Linked DNA regions of Homo sapiens: regions 2 and 3 are each linked to region 1. The links are contacts of gene promoters, found by promoter capture Hi-C in human tissues and cell types (Jung and others, 2019). All regions are on one chromosome and are shown on one strand. The core of a region is centred on a gene start or on the middle of the fragment in contact, and the rest is flanking DNA. Distances in the headings are between cores, read along the strand shown.

Evidence for each region. The method cuts DNA at HindIII sites, captures the fragments that hold promoters and counts their contacts. A contact is called where the count stands out against the background at its distance.
Region 2: a fragment that was not itself captured here is called in contact with the fragment with the promoter of PTPRG in region 1 in 1 of the 25 tissues and cell types used here (dorsolateral prefrontal cortex).
Region 3: a fragment that was not itself captured here is called in contact with the fragment with the promoter of PTPRG in region 1 in 1 of the 25 tissues and cell types used here (lymphoblastoid cells).

What each region holds. Positions count from the first base shown.
Region 1 is chr3:61,559,022-61,563,318 of GRCh38, forward strand. PTPRG (protein tyrosine phosphatase receptor type G) reads left to right here and starts at 2,550. Exons shown (of 30, transcript NM_002841.4): 1 at 2,550-3,351. The coding sequence starts at 3,267. RefSeq lists an enhancer at 652-1,327. The HindIII fragment of the contact is 9,021 bases long and covers 1-4,297 here.
Region 2 is chr3:59,591,507-59,595,803 of GRCh38, forward strand. The region is part of intron 6 of CFAP20DC-DT (CFAP20DC divergent transcript); the gene reads left to right. Among named protein-coding and RNA genes, the nearest start is that of CFAP20DC-DT, 510 kb to the left of the region's middle. The HindIII fragment of the contact is 5,594 bases long and covers 1-4,297 here.
Region 3 is chr3:59,671,647-59,675,943 of GRCh38, forward strand. All of the region lies in intron 6 of CFAP20DC-DT (CFAP20DC divergent transcript), which reads left to right. Among named protein-coding and RNA genes, the nearest start is that of CFAP20DC-DT, 590 kb to the left of the region's middle. The HindIII fragment of the contact is 3,044 bases long and covers 984-4,027 here.

The DNA.
Region 1 (4,297 bases), core at 1,300-3,799:
CTAGGACAGTCACCAGTCCATACCGAATTGGATGTGAAGTTTTAGCATGGGGCCTCCTACACTACTAAGGTAGTGGTAATTCACTCTGCAAACCCATATGAGGTTTTCCCCGACTCTGAAGCTCTTTTTTTACATTCCACATTTTGGTGCCTTCTCAAGCCATTATTCTGTTGCCTTGAATCACAGCTGTGGAGGCAAACAGGCCTGGGTTGAGAATCTCAGCTCTGCTGCCCACTAGCTGAGGATCCATCATTGTACTCTTCTGAGCATGTTTCCTTGTCTATTAAATGGGGAAAATAATTCTCACAGCTGGCAGTATTTTAAGAACTCCATGAGAGAACGGAGCATGGACTTAGGAAGGTATGCTCCCATAAGGCATGGGGGCTTGCCCTTTTTGTTCGAGGCTGTGTTCCCAGTGTGTCCCTCAAACAGTAGGTGCTCAATACATTTGTTGAATGAGCAAGCAGTTTATGGCATGAATTCAGCACAATGCCTGGTAGACAGTAAGCATTCCACAAAGGACAGCTTTTACTGTCCATTTCACAGAGGAGGAAACCTCACCTGAGGACGCTGACACAAGTATTTGACGAGTTTTTCCTATTTTATCACTCGACATTAAGAAGGTAGTCAGGGATGCTGGGGTAATCTAACTTGAGGAACGAATATCCCTCATTACAACACTTCCAAGAAAAATGGCCCTCGCAATCCTTTATAAAGAAGTCAGGATTCCAATAAAACCAGGAAGGACCACATTCCAAAGCAAACAAACTCGCCTCATTCCCCACCCTGGGGGAGGGTGTTCACCCCCGTTCTGCTAAAGATAGAGCTAGGGCCCTCCCCAGGAACTTCCTGGCTTTTATTAGTTTGTAATCCCATACGTAACTTTTCAAAGGTTTTTCTTTTGGAAGTGTGGGTGTGAAAATGCTTCCTTAATCACATCGAACGGGAGGATCTCCGACCATCTGTACTTTATTTGAAAACCTAGCATCCGGTTGGGATGTTTGGGTGGGTGGAGGACCCTGCCGTGTTGGGATGAAACAGCAGGGACACGTTTAAAACACAAGAACCATGCGCGGTGGCTCACGCCTGTAATCTCAGCACTTTGGGAGGCTGAGGCAGGCGGATCACAAGGTCAGGAGTTCGAGACCAGCCTTGCCAAAACGGTGAAACCCCGCCTCTACAAAAAAAACCAAAATAAAACAAAAAACAAACAAAAAAAACCACCAAAAAAATAATCAGCCGGGCGTGGTGGCGGGCGCCTGTAGTCCCAGCTACTCGGGAGGCTGAGGCAGGAGAATCGCCCGAACCCGGGAGGCGAAGGTTGTAGTGAGCCGAAATCGAGCCACTGTACTCCAGCCTGGGCGACGGAGCGAGACTCCGTCTCAAAACAAAACAAAACAATCCCACGTCAAGATCGCTTTGAAACACAGGCAGAAAAATTAGGCAAAAAATGTCAAACGGCTAATTACCTTGGCTCAGTTACACATTTACTCGAAAGCCCGCCTCCCCCACTTTTAGCCCCAGCGTTAAGAATGTAAAATAGGGCGCTTAGAAGTCTAAGCGATAAAGATCTTCTTACCGAGAGCCAAGGGACAAAACTCATTACAGATAAGCCTAGTCCTCCCATTTCCCCCGGACGCCTCTCCCCGATTGCTAAAGAAGCAGCCGCTCCCCGGGTAGCTGCCAGGAAATCAGTCCGGCCCCGCGGCGCTGCTTTCACCCTGCAGGGTGTAAGAGGCGCACTTCCTGCGCCCTCCCCGCGGCCAAACCGGGGTGCGGGAACCTTCTCCAGAGAAGCTGCGAGTTGGGGAAACTCCGCCACCGATCCATCGTGGCGCCGGGAAAGGGGATGCGGGGCTCGGAAGGGCTAGATTTCGCAATCCTGGGATCGACATTCCTCCCCTCCCCCACTTTCCCCAGCCTTGGACTGGGCCAATGAAAGCCCGAAAAAGAAAAAAAAAAAAAATTAAATCTCAATGTAGCCGGAGTGCAAAGGCCGCTCGGCTTTGTTTCCCGGCGGGGGAATGCGCTGTGTTGGAGGCGCGAACAGGAGCCGCAGACGGTGAGCCTCACCGCTGCAAATGCCAGGGCAGTGAAGCCGAACAGAAAACCCCATCGCTTTAAAAAGGCAGCTGTCCGCCCTCCCCCTTTCCCCTCGCCAGGGCGAGGGGCCCCTCAAGTCCGGGATCCGCGAGCTGCGCGGAGGATCTCGCCAAACCCGAGCACCGTGCGGCGTCTTTTAAGAGCTCGAACAACGGGAATCCAGCAAAAAACAAGCCGGCCCCAGAAGGCAGCCTCCCTCCTCTCTCCGCGCACGGGCTACAATCGCCCCCAGTCCCCAAACTGTCCCAGTAGAGGCCGCGCGGAGAGAGCAGAGCCGAGGGACCCAGCGCAAGGCGGGAGCCAAGCGCGGCTGCTTTAAGAACGCGGAGAGCGCGCGCCCGCCGCCAGCTGGCCCGGGCTGCGCGCCCCCGCCGCCACCGCGCGCCCCCTGTTCGCTCGCTCCTTCGCTCGCCGGCTTTAAAGTCTCTGCCAGGATCCATGCTCACATGTTACTTCCTGTATGGAGGCATGGCCAGTTTCCAGCCCCGCGCTCTTCGTTCCTTCCCAGCCTGCGCCGGAGCCACAACTTTCAGGAGCATGGACTGAAGGCGCCCTCGCCCCAGCGCCCCTCTGAGATCCTTTGTGTTTTCCTCCGTTTCCTCCGGCCGTTTCTATTTTGGGGGGCTCTCCGCTCCCCCTGCCTCTCCCCTCCCCTTCCCCTCTCGCAAACATGCCTCCTTCCTTCCCGGGGCCCTGGAAGGAGCTGCCTGCCTGAAGCCCGGAGACGCCGCGCCGCGCTCAGCCCCGCCGCCGCCCGCCGGCTCTCGGGCTGTGCTGCGCTGCCGACTCAAGTTGGGGATCCTCGGCTGCTCGCCGCCGCCGCCCGCGGTCCCTGCCTGCCCCAGGCCCGGGGCATCGCCGCCGGCCGCCGACTCCGCGCCCTGCCCGATCGGCTCTCTCCTTTTTAAACGGAAAGCAGCCTTTCTCCGCCGAGAGGATCGTCCCCAGCGTGGCTCTGCGTTCCCGGTCACTTTTTGAGATTTTCCGGGGGGCGCTCGGCGGCTTCCCGGATTCCAAGGGGACTCGGGCCGCCGAGCGCGGGGGGCCCGTGGAGCGGGCGAGCCGGGGAAGCGCCCCGGCTTAGCGGAGGCTCGCACGGAGGCAAGAACTTATTCAACAAGTTTACCTCCCTGCTTTCCTCTTTTCGATGTGCGTTTTCGGACATGCGGAGGTTACTGGAACCGTGTTGGTGGATTTTGTTCCTGAAAATCACCAGTTCCGTGCTCCATTATGTCGTGTGCTTCCCCGGTGAGTGCCGGCCGCCGAGGGGATGCGGCCCCGGCCGGCGCGCGTTGGGGATGCGGAGTTGTCGCCTGGGCGCGGAGCTCCGGCGCCCGTCCGGGAGACCCTGGAGAGGGTGGAGGGTGGCCCGGCGCCCGGATAGGAGAAAAGGATTGCTCCGCTGGCTTGGATGATGTTTAGGGAGGCAGGCTAGTGGTCGAGGAAGGTGGAGGCAGGGGCTGGCCGGGGAGGGGGCTGGGGGACGCGGGGGTCTGCTCCCGCTCCCTTTTGGGGGTCCTGGGGAGCTGGAATCGGGAGAAAGGGGGACTTGCTTTGCTGACTCGTCGCCGATCGGGAGAACTCGAGTTGTGGGGCGGTTGGGGAGACTGAGGCCATGGAAAGGATGCTTCTGTGGGTTTGGGGGGCCCGGGATGAGCCCCCTCGCTCTGGCGGGTATTGAAGGAACTCAGAAGGTGGGGGTTTGCTTTGCTGTTCTCCATCCCTTTGGGAGGGCTAGGTTTCGGGGAATGGAAGTCGGAGGCTGGCTGCGGAGGACTGAGGATGTGTGGGGAGCAGCCTGCGTTCTGGGTCGGGGGCGTCCTCCCTCTCTCTGGGGGCTGGGGCGCGGGCAGCACTTCGGTGCCGGCGTGAGGCAGCCTCCTTGGGCGCAGTGAGACGGCAGGGCGCAGGCGGTTTCGGAGAGATCCGTGTCTCCCCTAGCCCCGGCCCGTGGCCCTTTCCCTCCGCTGCTCTGCTCGATTGGATTGCCTGGGTCTGGACGCGGGGAGGGGGCGGGGGCGGTTTCGGCGGCCGGGGCGGTTTCGGCGGCCGGGTTGCTGTTCGCGCCGGGGCTGATTTTTTTCCTGTCTCGCGCGCCCTGCCTACCTTCATCTTTGCCCTTTTGCAGGCTGTTCGCGGCTGGCAGACCCAGTCTCGCTCCTTTCTGGCCAGGTTAAGACAGGAACAATACTGG
Region 2 (4,297 bases), core at 1,222-3,721, 2.0 Mb before region 1:
ATCTGCATGTTGGTGATTTAGTCCCTGTTCTGGAGATTTTAGGATGCTAACAAATTGACGTAAATAAGCTTGGACCCCTGCCAAGGAATATAGCGAGCCACTGAGCAGCTTTTCACATGGAAGGTCAGTGCATTTTTAACAAAATACAGAAAAAAGATGAGCCTTGGGTATGTTTTAGATCCAGGAAAGATGAGGCCAGGGAAAACCGTCTTCCCTCCCTTAGAAGACTTTGTGGAAGAGGGGGATTTTTAGGAATTGCTTAAATGATGGATGAGCTACCACCTGTTTCACAAGGATTCTGTGTTGCTGAATAAAATACTTTCAAATCACTCAGGTATTACTGGAAGAGATACTATACAAATACACAGCCAGATCTGTGTTCGAAGTGGCCCTTTAACTTTGGCCAGCCACTTATTCTTTAAATAATCTAATCTCCTCTTCTGAAAGTTGATTTGTGTATATTTGTACTTTTATATGTGGAGTATCTAATTGTGGTTAATATGGGCAATAATTTTAAGAATGATGTAAAACAAGATCCATAGCATCACTGAAAAATGTGACGGATTTGCACAGTGAAGTGTCTTTGGGATTGATTAAGACTGTTTTGCATGACTTGGTAAAGGTAAAATGTCATCTCTCTTTTCTTCAGACAAATAGATTTGGTTATCTTTTTTTTTTTTTTTTTTTTTTTTTTTGAGATGGAGTCTCACTGTATCACCCAGACTGGAGTGCAGTGGCACAATCTGAACTCACTGCAACCTCCACCTCCCAGTTTCAAGCAATTCTGCCTCAGCCTCCTGAGTAGCCAGGATCGTAGGCATGTGCCACCACGCTCCACTAATTTTTGTATTTTTAGAAGAGACATGGACCTACTCTTAGCACCTACTCTTAGGACCAAATTAGGACCATAACAAAAAAATTTATTGAAAATGATCATATTCTCTTTTACTATAAACTTTCAGACTATAATTTCTTATAGTGGTCTGGTCTTCCTAATTATGTTTGAAATCCTGACTTTTATTTCTTTTTCAATTCTTAGGGGAAACTAATTTAATTAGTAAGTTATCAAAATCTTTTGATCTTTAGTAAGTACTCGTTATGTTGGTACTTTATAAGCTAAAAATAAGAAAAACAACAGGAACCCCTGAAAGATTCAATGAAACTTTCTAATTCTAGACCTAACGTTTGTTGAGTGACTTGAATAAGTCACTTAACATCTCTATGGTTCACCTTCCCTTATGCCCAAAATCTAACAAATCTCTCTCCTCTTATTACCCCAAATGCCAATGGATGGATAAATGAATAGGTGGGTGCAAGGGTGATACATGGATGGATGCACGGTTGGATATGTGGACAGATGCATATTTGGGTGTGTGGACTGATGCATGTTTGGGTGCATGGAAGGCTGGATGGGTAAGTGCATTGATGGGGTGCAGGGTTGGGTGCATGGATGGATTCATGGATTGAAACCTGGTTTAAAGGAAAGGTGGAAGGACATACAAAAGAAAGTGTTTTTATTAAAAAATGAAATTAATTCAACAGAAGAATGAACTGAAATAAAGCTGGAAAAACTGATAAAATTCACAGAAATGTTTCTTTACCCCTGAAAGGAACTACTGTGCCTAAAATACTTTTTAAAATTTTTCAGAAAATGTGTTTGTGCCAAGCTCCATGTTGGATAATATCTCAGATGTTTTCTTTGGTAAGAGGCCTCTATGTTTTATATGGCAGAAACTTTATAGCAAGAGTCGTCCATTTGTATAATAAGATGATTGCAATCCATAGAGACAACCTCCTGCTATTTATCTTACGGTCCAGTCTAGTTCGTCGCTGGGTCTGTAAGGAGAGGTACTGAACATCAGTTTGAAAGGTTCCTCAGAGCATCCAGAGCCCCCTGGTATAGGTAAAGCTAAGCAGGGGAGCCATTGTTGTGTTACTTTGTTTTGTTAGATTAATGATTCTTCTGTTAATATTTAACCTTTTGTCAAATTGTGATGCATAAGGTTGTACATCTAGATCAATACAAATGAATAATGAGACAGGCATATTTTTTTCATCTCATTTATTTTCCTGCTAGTACACAACAGTGTTTTATTGACAGTGTGTTTCACATGGTCCATTATTAATTAAACTTAGAGAAGGACATATCCTTTGCCACATGAAAAGAAACACCAATGTTTCCCTGCTTTGATCTTTCCTGAGGACTTGGAATAGTAAAGAAGTCTCTTAGGACTGTGGATGGAGGGGAGAGTGAGGTATGCTTCATGGAGTGTTTGAAGATTGGGCACTATGTAATATGCCCTGAGGGGCAGCTCTGAAAGGTTCTGTGTGTTTTTATGGTTAGGATGTTATTGGCAATGATGCTAAATAAGAAATGCAACAGTAGCTGGGAATTTCTTCAAATGGCATGGTTTTAAATTACTAGATCTCCCAGAATAGAAAAGAATAATAAAGTACAGATTTCCTCAATCCCTCACAATATCATTTTGCCAGTTTTATATTTTAAAAGCATCCTCATTTATGCATTCTCTCAATAAAATCTGTCAGGGCAAAGTCCTCACTCCATACAATGTAGTAGTAAGAGCAGAAGCTTCACCATCATGTAGGGGTTCTGCGGAGACATTCTTCTTTCAAATCCACATTTCTCACCAGGGCTCTGAACTCCCTGCTTTGTATTTGTCTGTCTGTGTGTCTCTCTGTCTAGCTCCTTTGCTTCTCTCCTGAACATCTGCTCTCTCTCCTCCCTCTCTGTCATCTGGACCCCTCATCCTCTGTCCAAATGATGCAAGGATGCTCTACTCTCTCCAAGTTCACATGCCACTTCCAGCCACTTATAGGGACTGATGAGCAAATTTTGATTCCAAGTTCACGGAAGAAAGAAGCTGTTCGGCCCTGCTTGGGCCAGATGGTCCAACGTTGCTGTACGTCACCCATCTCCATGGGTGTGGAAGGAGGGGTGATTGTGGGAGGAGGGAAATAATCATGACCTAGGCAGACCCTCCAAGATGTGTCTACTACAATAAGGTACCTCATAAAGGTGTGCTGAATGGAAAGAAAGACAAGGAATTGGAATAAATAATGTCTATTTAATTGTAAATTGTACTTTCTTCTTGAGGGCGTGTAAATTTAAGAAACAGAATAATTATAACAGCATTTTCATAAATTAAGTAGTATTAGGCTTAACCCGAGTCACGGCTGGGTGCCCAACACAGCAGGGGTTTAATAAAGGCTTGTTAACTGTCTAGAACTCTGTTGAATTTAATTTAGCTTGATTTAGCATTTCCCATATGCAAAGTGCTTGACAACAATTGCATTTCCTGATATTTGCAGTCTTCCTGAGAACCTGAAATGCTATTTCTCATTTTATAAATGTGAAGCTATAATTGCCCAGTGAGACTCATTTCTTTGTGGGAGGAGGGTGGAAATAATGGTTAAGGACACCAAATTAGATCCAGATCTTGGCTTATCTGCTCACTAGTTTTGTGACGTTGGTCAAGTTACATAATCCCCTTGAGCTTCACTTTCATCTCTTAAACTGATATGATAGAAGTTACCAGGCCAAGGTTTCATGAGAATTAATTGAGAGCTTAGAACGCAGAAGGTGCTCAGTATGTTAGCTCTTAATAATTGCAATAGTTATTGTTGTATAAGATTTTACTGCATGTTAGGCAACAATTTCTTAAAGAAGAGTCCCAGGAATGCTGTAACATAAATGGCTTAAGAGTGCATGCTGTTGTTTGCCTGATAGCTCCCTGTAACTGATACGCTCAGGTTACAGGCTTAAGTATATGTGTTTTATTCTCTGCATCACACACAGAGTTCACCCCTCCTCTTGGGTGTTGGTCTGTTGGATCCGCCTCTTCAAGAGACAGACCGAGCTCTGAAATATTGACTTGAAGGGCTGCGTAAATTATTACCTTGCTGCTCTTACCTAAAGAAGAGAGAGCAAAGCTAAGGGGCAGGTGATGTGGTTTGGCTGTGTCCCCACCCAAATCTCATCTTGTTGCTCCCATAATTCCCATGTGTTGTGGGACGGACCCAGTGGGAGATGATTGAATCATGTTGGGGGGAGCCGTCTTTCCCATGCTGTTCTCATGATAGTGAATGGATCTCACAAGATCTGATGGTTTTAAAAACGGGAATTTCCCTGCACAAGCTCTCTATTTGCCTGCTGCCAACCATGTAAGATGTGACTTGCTCCTCCTCGTCTTCCACCATGATTGTGAAGCCTCCCCAGCCATGTGGAACCATAAGTCTAATAAACCTCTTTCCTTTGTAAATTGTGCAGGCTCAGGTA
Region 3 (4,297 bases), core at 1,256-3,755, 1.9 Mb before region 1:
TCAGTTGGGATAAGCTGTACTCAAGCACTCTATGGGCACCTGTGGCTAGTGGGTACCATATTGGACAGTGTATATGTAATAGCTGATTGATTGCATTTAAAACATTACTCATAAGAAGATCCTTCTAAATCAAGTATTCACATTACTCATAAGAAGATCCTTCTAAATCAAGTATTCTATCAGAGCATTCAAAATCTGGCTGGGTATGGTGGCTCACGCCTGTAATCCCAGCACTTTGGCAGGCCGAGGCAGGTGGATCACCTGAGGTCAGGAGTTCGAGACCAGCCTGACCAACATGGTGAAACCCTGTCTTTACTGAAGATACAAAAATTACCTGGGCATGGTGGCAAGTGCCTGTAATCCCAGCTACTTGGGATGCTGAGGCAGGAGAATCGCTTGAACCTGGGAGGTGGAGGTTGCCATGAACCGAGATGGCACCATTGCACTACAGCCTGGGCAACAGAGCAAGACTCTATCTCAAAAAATAATAAACAAATTAATTAATTAAAATAAAATAAAATCCAATTCATGACCAGACACAGTGGATCACACCTGTAATCCCAGAGCTTTGGGAGACTAAGGCAGGAGGATTCTTTGAGCAAGGAGTATGAGGCTGCAGTGAGCTAGGACTGTGCCACTGCCTTCTGCCTGGGCAACAGAGCAAGACCTTGTTTCAAGGCAAACAAATACATAAAGAAATAAAATACAATTCAAGTTAAAAAGATGAAATTTCCATGCTCTTTAGGAATCTGTTTTCACAGAGAGAGGTAAACTTAAAGTAGAGTTATTGTGAGACAGACATAAAAGCTCATATGCAGCATGCATTATTGCTAAGTCAACTCACAAAGAAAAATAGCTTAAGTAAAGTTTAGTAACTACAAAGCATGTGCATTGAACACCTTGATTATGGAAAAATAGTGCATTTAAGAAAAAAGTGGGGGCAGGCACAGTGGCTTAGGCCTGTAATCCCAGCACTTTGGGAAGCTGAAGAAGGAGGATCACTTGAGTTTAGGAGTTAGAGACCAGCTTAGGCAACGTGGCAAGACCCTATCTCTACTAAAAATTAAAAAAAAAAAAATTAGCTGGGTGTGGTGGCATGTGTCTATAGTCTCAGCTACTCAAGAGGCTGGGACAGGAGGATCACTTGAACTCAGGAGATGGAGGCTTCAATAAGTGGGGATCGTGCCACTGCACTCCAGCCTGGGTGACAGAATGAGACACTGTCTAAAAAAAAAAAAAAAAAAAAAAAAAAAAAAATTTGGAGACGTGAAGGGAGTCCTTAAAATCTTTGCAGCATATGGACTTGAGAAGAGTCTAGAACCGTGTCCCCTGGTCCTGTAATGGGTAGCTTCTCTGCCACATTTCACTCACTTCAAGACAAAAATGAGAAACTTCAAGGGCTGTTGAACACGGGCAGGATTTTCACAGCTGTTCAGAGTGAGTTAGCACAGGCGTTGTGGGAATCATGATGCATTGGGAAAAGTCTTTGCTCCTAACAGCCTCAGATTCCACCTGCTCAGTGGATGGTAGTGGGCAGCACTGGTGCAGGTGAAAGGCAGTTGGTGAGACCATTAGCAGCCTCTGGGGTCTCATCCTGCAATGGACTTTCCCTTGCCATGGAGTACCATGGGAAGAACTTGGACTTGGTGCCAAAGAGCCAGCTCCTAGTTCCTACCCTGACAGTTCTTTTGCTGTGAGATCATAAGCAAGCCATTGAAACTCTCCATGCATTATCTCTAAAAGGAGAGAAATGGGTTACATCATCCCCAAGGCCTTTGCTGTTTCTCAGATTCTGTGATGCCAAGTGAATTGTGTTAGCGTGTGCAGACATCTGAAAGTGTGCCAGGGGCATCCAGGTATTAGCTTGCGATAGAGTGAAAAAGCAATTAAATAAAAGGCAAAAAATCCACAAACGCATCTCAGTTTAGGGGATGATGTAGGTTCAGGAGGGCTCAGAGAAATTGAAATTCTTTCTTTTTCTGTTATTTTAAAAATGTATATTAGTAATACATGAATACATTCTGATTCTGGCCATGCATAAACATATAAAGCAAACCATGAAAGTTTTCCTTCAACTTTTCCTGCTCCAATTCTGTTCCCCAGAGGTAATCTCTGTCATTATTTTGGGGTACATATTTCCAAGCCCCCTTTTCTGTGCATGTATACCACATATTTAGATATTACATAGGTATCTTATTTTTAACATAAATGGCATCATATTATATATGCTATTCTGTAACCTGCTTTTTTTTCACCAATAATGTATCTTGGAGATCTTTATTTCAGTGTGTATAGGTCCACTTCATTCTTTTGAACAGACTTCATAGAATGAATGTACCACGATTCGTTCAAGCGTTCTTCTAAATGATAAGTATTTAAGCTGGTTCCAGTTTTTCACTATTATAATGTTGCTATGAATGCCCGTAGGATCCCATTTATATCCACCTGTGCAAGTGTTTCCAAAGATAAGAGTCCAAGAAAAAGGACTGCTGAGTCAAAAGCCCTGTCCACTTTTAATTTTGACAAATACTGCTAAATTAACTTTTATGAAAGCTCCATCCATTTATGCTCTCACCAACTGTATATTCAAAGGCCATAATAACCAATAGACTACTATCAATATTTTAAGCATTTTTTTGCCAATCTTGTTTTAATTTACAATTTCCCAACTTCTAGAGAGCTTGAGATCTCTTCAAATATTTACTGGACTTTTGCATTCTTTTCTGTGCAAATCTGTTTAAATTCTCTTCAATATTTTGAATACTTCATTTGTCTATTCCTTATTGATTCATGAGAACACTATATATATCCTGGATATTAATGCTGTCGTTTGTCTTTTGAATAGCTTACATAAATTTTTCTCAGTTTTATTTTTTTAACTCCATGACATATTTTGTTATATAGAAATCTTTAATCTTTATATATTTCTTTTTTCAGTTTTTGCTTAGAACAAGATTATTTTTCAATGATAGTTCCCAACTTTCGATTCTATAATATTAGAAGGTAAGCTTATATATACTGATGTATATATTATTTTGGTGTCAAAATTGTTTTCAAAGATAATTGGACAAATATGCATTATTATCGATCTTCTCTGTTGATTTCCTATCAGTGAAAATTTACTGTTCTTTGCATCCCTTTCTTCTAATTCCTCTATGGGACACTCCTGATGGTTTAGCTACTCTAGCACAGAACAAGCCGGTGTACCGATGAACCAACCTGTCAGTGGTTAAAAGAGGTTCTCTTGTTTGTTCCTCAGCAGTGATGGCAGCTCCTGACCTCCAAGCAATGAGTCTGGTTCTCTGACATTTTGTTTTCATAGGTAGAAAACACAAACTTTCATCTTGCCAAAGACTGTTTTCTCCCTTCCTTCCTCCCATTCATCCATCCTACCGTCCTTCTCTTCCTTTCTTTTGGATTTTTCCCTTCCCTTTTTGCCTTCTTTTCTCTCTCTCATGTACACATTTACTGAGCATCCACAGCATGTTAGGAGCTGTCCCAAATGCTCTGGGGACACAACAATGAACAGAGCAGCCAAGCCCCGACTTCCATGCAGCTCATTTTCCATATTCGTGCTGTTCATTTCAACAGACGCTGCAGAGCTCACACTTACATACAACCCAGGGGCGGTAAAGGGCATGGATTTGAGAATTGGGAGACATAGATATAGATCCTAGCTCTTCCTCTTACCTGTGTGACTTGGTCAAGTTGCTTCTTCTCTTCCTGAGTCTCAGTTTCCTCCTCTATAAAACAGATTAACTGCATCTACCACATAAGATTGCCATAAGGATTGACTGGATAAAGTGTATCAAGAGTTTAACTCCATGCTAAAATTTAATAAATACAATTAGTAAGTGGCAGGCACTGCTCATATTATTTCCCTGTATCCTCACAACAATCTGCAGCTGGTGGCTGATTGAAAATGATCCACTCCCATTTTGCAGATAAAGGAACTAAGGCTTGGTGCAATCGCAGCCACGAGACCAGGTCTCCCAGGTCCTGGGGAGAGAGCTGTGTTTGCCTTTTCTGGTTTGCCCAGACCAAACTTGGAGTTCTGTTGTATCTGTGCACCACCTGTGCTTCTGTGTACTCAGTACTTTCTTTAAGTTGACTTATCTTTAAACTTTAATATGAGTAAATAACCATAATATCTGTGTAAAATATGATTTTGAAATACTGGTTATGGTTTACCTCATACACATCAAAAGAAATACTCAACTGTGAACATTTTAGAACAGGAACATGAGCCCCACCTAGAAACATCTCGTGTGATAATGATGATCTCTGGCCTCCATGT